2 separate regions of the Homo sapiens genome follow, and region 1 is linked to region 2. The links are contacts of gene promoters, found by promoter capture Hi-C in blood cells and fetal thymus (Javierre and others, 2016). All regions are on one chromosome and are shown on one strand. The core of a region is centred on a gene start or on the middle of the fragment in contact, and the rest is flanking DNA. Distances in the headings are between cores, read along the strand shown. Region 1 holds the start of FHOD1 (formin homology 2 domain containing 1). Region 2 holds the start of ACD (ACD shelterin complex subunit and telomerase recruitment factor).

What was found. Contacts are between HindIII fragments. The CHiCAGO score rates a contact against its expected background, and 5 or more counts as called.
Region 1: the fragment with the promoter of FHOD1 here is called in contact with the fragment with the promoter of ACD in region 2 in 7 of 17 cell types (neutrophils, erythroblasts, naive CD8 T cells and 4 more); the score reaches 8.5 in neutrophils.

What each region holds. Positions count from the first base shown.
Region 1 is chr16:67,246,230-67,249,601 of GRCh38, reverse strand. FHOD1 (formin homology 2 domain containing 1) reads left to right here and starts at 2,121. Exons shown (of 22, transcript NM_013241.3): 1 at 2,121-2,392. The coding sequence starts at 2,192. It overlaps SLC9A5 (solute carrier family 9 member A5), which reads right to left and starts at 623. Exons shown (of 16, transcript NM_004594.3): 1 at 401-623. The coding sequence starts at 587. RefSeq lists enhancers at 1-384, 385-886, 3,287-3,372 and silencers at 562-671, 972-1,061, 1,082-1,171, 1,814-2,183, 3,084-3,183. The HindIII fragment of the contact is 13,502 bases long and covers 1-3,372 here.
Region 2 is chr16:67,659,006-67,662,370 of GRCh38, reverse strand. It overlaps ACD (ACD shelterin complex subunit and telomerase recruitment factor), which reads left to right and starts at 2,111. Exons shown (of 12, transcript NM_001082486.2): 1 at 2,111-2,249; 2 at 2,326-2,468; 3 at 2,576-2,669; 4 at 2,758-2,834; 5 at 2,952-2,996; 6 at 3,108-3,142; 7 at 3,292-3,365. The coding sequence starts at 2,151. It overlaps PARD6A (par-6 family cell polarity regulator alpha), which reads right to left and starts at 1,411. Exons shown (of 3, transcript NM_001037281.2): 1 at 1,270-1,411; 2 at 694-916; 3 at 1-475. The coding sequence starts at 1,332. RefSeq lists silencers at 1,145-1,624, 1,935-2,044 and an enhancer at 2,198-2,781. The HindIII fragment of the contact is 13,736 bases long and covers 1-3,365 here.

The sequences.
Region 1 (3,372 bases), core at 872-3,371, 410 kb after region 2:
TGGGAGAACACCCTCCCCTCAATGTCCCCACACATCCTCACCAGCGACAGAGGTTTCTGGGAGGCTAGGGATTGGTGGGGGAGAGACCAGACTGAAGAGGGCCTACTGCAAGGGGAAGAGGGGAGCGGAGAGGGCAAAGGAGCCTACAGATGGAGTTGGGGAGAGCGGGGGACAGCCCTTCAGAAAGGCAAATCCTCAGAGCTCCCAGGGGAGAAGACAGGGACCTGGGACCCACAAGAAGCGATGCAGGAACTGGGCGAGAGCCCGGATTTGTGGAATCCAAACCTAAGTCCCAGCACCGTGCAAGAAGCCAGCCCCAATCTGAGGACCGAGGAGGTGGGGGTGTTGGGGGCGGGTCCGCCGCTGGCGGTCGGCCTGGCGCACGCACACACGCACTCACCGATTTTGGCCAGACTGGCCACCAGGATCCACAGGGCCACCAGGTAGGGCGCCTCCACCTCGTGCCACTGCCAGCGGAAGAGCTCTAAGCCTGGGGGAGGCTCGCCCGGGGACTCTGGCTTCTGGGTGGGCTCTTCGGCCGCCCCCGCCAGGGGCAGCGCGAGCAGGGACAGGGCGGCGCGCAGCATCCTGCCGCCTGCCCAGCCGCCCTCCCGGCACCGCACGGCCGCCGGCCCCGCGTCGCCGCCGCCACCTACCGGGCGCCCCCGCGTCACAGGCACGTGGGGCCCGCTCCCCCCAATCCCGGCTCCGATACCCCCAAGCCAGGTCCAGGCTCCGAGACCCTGCCTCGGACTCTCGTAGTCGGGGACTCTCTCCTCTTTCCTCCCTAAATCAGTCCCAGCTCCGGAAATTCCCCAGTGCAGCTCTCCCCCAAGTTCCACAACCTACTCCTTCGAGTCCGCGCCCCCAAACCTCCCCAAAACCGCCCCCACCAGATCCAGAGCGGTGCGCGGCCACGGCCCCCCTGGGGCAGCCCGCAGCGGGAAGGGCGGGGGTCTGCGGGGGGCGCGGTCAGGACGGGAGGGGCACGGCTCCTCCTCGGCCAGCGCTGCTGTGCGGCGAGCAGCACCCCCCTGGGACCAAGGCGCGGCCGGGTGCAAAACGCAGGGGACCGTGCTTGGCCGCCCTCCGCCCACGTTGCCAAGCCCAGGACCCCCTGCCGGCCCCCACCCGGACCTGAGCTGCGCACGCGCACTGGACGCTCCCCAAAGCAGTGACGGACAACGCTGCCCCCAACGTCCCAGAAACCCTAAGGCCCAGACTGGCCCAGCTCGTGCCAGGCGAAGAGGGAGGCTGTTCTTCATCTCCCAAACCAAGGGGCACCTGGCCCTCCCTTTCAGTCACACTACAGAGAACTGTCTCATCTCTTTGATGAAGCTGACAGGAACCTATGGAAAACCCAGCCTACTGATTCCCTTCAAACTAGGCGAGATGCACCCAACTTTTTCCAAATCTGAGGGGCATTCGGCTCATAGCGCCCCAAACAGAGGAGGACCGTCTCCACTTTTCATTCAGGCTGAGGGGCACCCATCCCACTTTTTCTCCAAAACTGAGGGGAACGTGTTCTATCTGCCCCCTCAAACTGACTCCTCCCAATCTTTTCCCAGAAAACTGAAGGGCATCCTTCCCTCTTCCTCCCACAACTAAAGGGAACTGATCCCACCTCTTCCTTCAAACTGGGTGGAATTTATTCTCACTTCTTGCTCCAAATTGAAGGGACCCCCTCTCACTGCTTTCCCTAAATGAGGAAACCACAGGGACTCACCCCTCAAATGGAAGGAATGAGGGCTATCTTGTCCCTCAACTGAGAGAGACCTGGCCGGCCACTATCTAAAGAAACTTCTGCCCCATCTGCCCTAACACCCCTCAAAGAGAACGCAGCCTCACTATCCCCAGACCAAAGAAAGCCTCCCCGCCTTCTGCGCGTTCTCGAAGGTGGGGCGCGAGCTCGGTTTTTCCCGCCCTCCTAGCCAGTGAACTAACGGGATTCCCATTGGGCCCTGTGAGTGGCTAGCGGCGGCCCCGCCTCCGGCAGTGGTTACCTCCTGGCGCGCACTCGGGGACTAATCTTGGCTCCACCCCCTTCCTCGGCCCCGCCTCCGTCTGGCCCCGCCCCTCCAGCCGCGTCCGGTCCGGCCGGGCCCGAACCGCGGAGCTACAGTGTGCTTTGAGTAGAAGCTGCACTGGGGCCGGGACTCGGAGGCGCGCTGCGTGAGCCGGCCGCAGAGCCATGGCGGGCGGGGAAGACCGCGGGGACGGAGAGCCGGTATCAGTGGTGACCGTGAGGGTGCAGTACCTGGAAGACACCGACCCCTTCGCATGTGCCAACTTTCCGGAGCCGCGCCGGGCCCCCACCTGCAGCCTGGACGGGGCGCTGCCCTTGGGCGCGCAGATACCCGCGGTGCACCGCCTGCTGGGAGCGCCGCTCAAGGTGAGGGAGGCCGGAGAAAGGTTGGGGCGATCGGGGGTTCAGGGTGGGCGCCATGAAAACTGGTGGGAGGTGCTCCGCGGGAAGAGGCTGGAGCGAGTGTTCTTCTCCGGAAAAGTCTTGGGCTGGGGTCCCAGGGTCCACTCTGCCCCGCCTGCGGGGGAGTCCCCTCTCAAGTTGAGGGGAAACTGAAGAGGGGTGCCAGGAACTTGGCTCCGCCATTCTGACTGCCCTTCGAATTAGGCGCACCTGGGGAGGTGCTCGAGTTCCACTCGCCGTCGGTCTGCCAGGGTGGCTTCCCTGGTCAGAGTGACGGTAGCCGCTTGGGCTGTAGCGGACCCTGGAGGCGGAGCTGGGGAGGGACCAGCTTCCACCTGCTTCAGGTGAGGTGGGGGCGGGACCACGAGGAGGGGCGGGCCCGAGGCGGACTACTAGAGGTGGCAGAGGTTTCCTGCGGTGTCAGGAAGCTGGATTGGGGCTTGACCCTGTAGGTCAATGGGAGTATGGGAGTGCCGGCCGAGGAGAGACTTCACGGGGTGAGGGGAGTCCCCGCGAAGCGGTCTGGCCCGGGATCCGCAGAGCGCAGGAGGCTGCACGGGTGTAAAAGCCCTTTGAGTCACCGCTCCCGCCCCCACCCCCGGACACTCGCCGCCCATCGGCCCGCGCCTGAAAGTGAGAGGGAGGGCCGGACTAATTTTAAACAGCCGGCCTGCCCTACTTTGCTGCCGCCCCGAAGCGGACTTGTGCACAGTGCGGAAAGAGGCCCTTTTCCAGATGGCCAGCCTACCTCCTCTCCCCTCCCTCTCGCCGCCGTCAGCCCCCCGCAGGCAGCCCTTTCCGGCGCGCTGTTTCCGGGCCAGGACTCTGGGAGGCGCACTACCACCTCCACAAGCTCCCCACCAGCCCGGCCGCCTCCAGTGCTGGAGAAGAGGAGAGAGAGTCGGGGTGGGTGCCCTCCCCTGCTCCCAGCCTCAGCTGGGCGG
Region 2 (3,365 bases), core at 862-3,361:
ACGTTATTGCGCTGGTTGGCGGGCTTGACAGTGACAATGAGGTTATGGCTGTTGGCAACCATCATGTCCGTCACTTGGTCCAAGGTCTTCCCGGCTACTTCAATGCCATTGACCTCGAGGATCTCATCACTGACCGCCAGCAGCCCTGTACTCTCAGCCAGACCCCCACGTACCAGGCGGGAGATGAAGATTCCTGGAACCCGCTCCAGGCCCTGGGGAGCCACACGCACGCTCATGCCATCTCGGATGTAGAAGCCCAGGGGGCGGTCTGAACCATGCTTGTGCAGCCGCACCCGTCGGTGGGTCTCAGGCAGTAGGTCCACGTCTATGACTGAGGAAACCTGGCGGAAATCTTGGGGCAGGCTGATTAGCAAGGGTGGCCGGGTGCGCAGGGGTGCCACTGGCCGCAGCAAGAGCCCTTTCTTGCGCCGCTGCAGAGAGTTGGAGGCAAAAGCCAGGCCGCTGGAGTCAGCTTCTGCTGCAGAAGAGGGGGGATGTTGAGATCAGAGACCTGCTCCCCGACTTGGGCTGTTTACAGGGGGCACTGTAGCTATTTCCTACCACTTAGAGGTCAAGCCAAGGGCAGGGACTGCAGAGGGTGACGCTTGGGTACCCTGGGCATGGACTAACCCTTGTAGACCTGCCCCACAGACACCTTACCCCACAGAGGCTGCCCACTGTACCCCTCCTCACCCCGCTTCTGCACCAGTAGGCGCAGTGGCGGGGGCCCGCTGGCCAGGGCCCGGTGCAGGCTGTCGTCGTTGGTGAGGGGCAGCAGGTCGCCATGAGCATCCGTATAGCCAAGTAGCACGTCCAGGCCCGGGATCTGGTGCACCGCCCGCAGCAACCGCGAGAACTCCTGGAAGCCGCTCACCGAAGCGCGAGGCAGCGCGAAGCGTCGGAACTCGGCGTCAAACTGGAAGTCGGGGTTGGGGGAGAGGAGGAGTCAGGACAGCCTGCGCCCCTTTCTCACCGCAGGCTGGCAGGAATGGGAAAGATGCGGCTGCCGCTTTTGCGGCAGCCTTAAGCCCAGACCTCAGCTCCAGTACCAGGGACGCTGTCCAAGGTCTTCTTACCGCCCTCCAGGTACTCAGGCCACAGAGAGCTGGAGACCAGCAGTGGAGGAAGGAAGACGGATGGGGGAAGGCGAGCAGAAAAGCAGAATGGGACTTGGAGGATAGAGGGAAGAGGTGGCGGGGACCAAGGAGCTGGGAAGGGGAGAAAGAGGGAATTGGGAGCGCCTAGGGCCGAGGCCGGAGGAGCCCTTACTTTGCTCTTCACCTCGACGATGCTATCGGGACTGCGCGCCGGAGTCCTCTGCGGCCGGGCCATGGCGGGGCCGGGCGGGCCGGGGACGGTGCCCCAGGCGGCCCGCCGAGGCGCAGGTGCACAGCCCGGCCGGCCCGCCCGCGCCGCCCCGCCCCTGGCGGTAGCACACGCCCCGCCTTCCCATCCGGAGCGTGACGTCAAGGGGGCAGCGACGCAGAGTGGAACGCGGAGTCCACGTTTCCTAGGAAACGGAGCCGTGGATGGAGAGGAGCCGTCCTCCGCTCTTGCGTCATCACGCTGAGGTCCGCGCGCCCCCGGAGTCTGGGGAGCAGGGCTCCGCCAATCCGAGGGGAGGGCGAAGGAAGTACCATTTATTTAGCGCTGTGTGTGTGCTCTTATTTCCACTGGCCTTACAAGACCGTGCACTGTGTAGATGAGGAAACTGAGTCATAATAAATATGTGCTGAACCGTTCGGGGGTCACACGGTGCTGAAATGGTTTCGAGTCAACTCGCTCGGACGGCACTCGGCCTCAGCCTCCGGCCCTGGAACCCTCTCCAGGGACGGGACCAGCCCTTGTTCTGTTCCCTACCGGTACCACAGGAATCTTGACGAACGGCCCAAATGCCTGGCCGCTGTCAGAGTGACGCCGCGATGAGAGTAAACGGGCCAGCATCCCGTGCACCAGCGGGGTGGACCAGCGGGAGTCTGCACACAGGCCCCCGAGCAGGACGCCCTCGTGCGCAGGCGCGGGGTGTACGTGGGCGGGGCCTCCTCCTCCGGCCCCGCCCAGCGAAGGAGCTTCCTCTTCCGAGGAAAGGCGGGGCCTGGGCGCCCGCGGGAAACCCGGGCCCGTTGCATCCGCTGGGTGTAGCCGTGGGGATGGCAGGTTCGGGGAGGCTGGTCCTACGGCCCTGGATTCGGGAGCTGATTCTGGGGTCAGAGACACCCTCCAGTCCACGAGCCGGGCAGCTGCTTGAGGTGAGCCCCCATTCAGGGCCCGGAGACCGAGGCGGAGGCCCGGGGTGGTGGGATTGACGCCGCTCGCCGCCGTCAGGTACTACAGGACGCCGAGGCCGCGGTCGCGGGCCCATCCCACGCCCCTGATACGTCCGACGTCGGGGCCACGCTGCTTGTGTCTGACGGGACCCACAGTGTCCGATGCCTGGTGACGCGGGAGGCCCTGGACACCTCGGACTGGTGAGAGGCCCCGCGCGGCTCTGGAGGTCGGAGTCCGGCAGGAGAGCGCGAGGTGGGCGGGCCTTGTGTTCAGGTGGGCCCGGCAGTGAGGATCCTGCTTGTTGCAGGGAGGAGAAGGAGTTCGGCTTCCGCGGGACAGAGGGCCGGCTGCTGCTGCTGCAGGACTGCGGGGTTCATGTCCAGGTCGCTGAGGGCGGCGCGGTGAGTGGTGAGACTGCCTTGGGCGGGTTACCGGGCATGACTCTTCGTGACGATTCTGAGACCCCCCCTTCCCCCCGAACTCCTCCAGCCCGCAGAGTTCTATCTCCAGGTGGACCGCTTCAGCCTGCTGCCCACGGAGCAGCCCCGGCTACGGGTGCCTGGTTGGTAAGTGATGCCTCCGCCCTCCAGCAGCTCTCCCCACCCCAGCCTGGCCGGCGCTGGCAGACGCCTATGGGGTAGGAGGGCTTGGGCCCCCATTAACTACCCTTCTCTTTTTCTTAGCAACCAAGACTTAGATGTTCAGAAAAAGCTCTATGACTGCCTTGAGTGAGTCTGGGGTTGGGCTCGGGGGCCACGTGTTGTTTGGTGAGGGGATGGTGTATCTAGGTAGACAGGCCTCAGCATGGTTCCTGAGTCCTGGCCACTCTCTTCCTGTAGGGAGCACCTTTCAGAGTCCACCTCGTCCAATGCAGGTACTGTAGAGCTTGACCAGTGATCCTAACACGCTGTGCAGTGATCTCTCCAGCCTTAACCTTATGCTTCCTCAATAAGCTGTCTTCCCCCTCACCCTCCTGGTCCTCCCCTTTAAGCCTTGACTCATCCCATGGTCCCCTGTCCCCAGGCCTATCACTGTCCCAGCTTCTGGATGAAATGCGGGAGGACCAGGAGCATCAGGGGGCACTCGTGTGCCTGGCT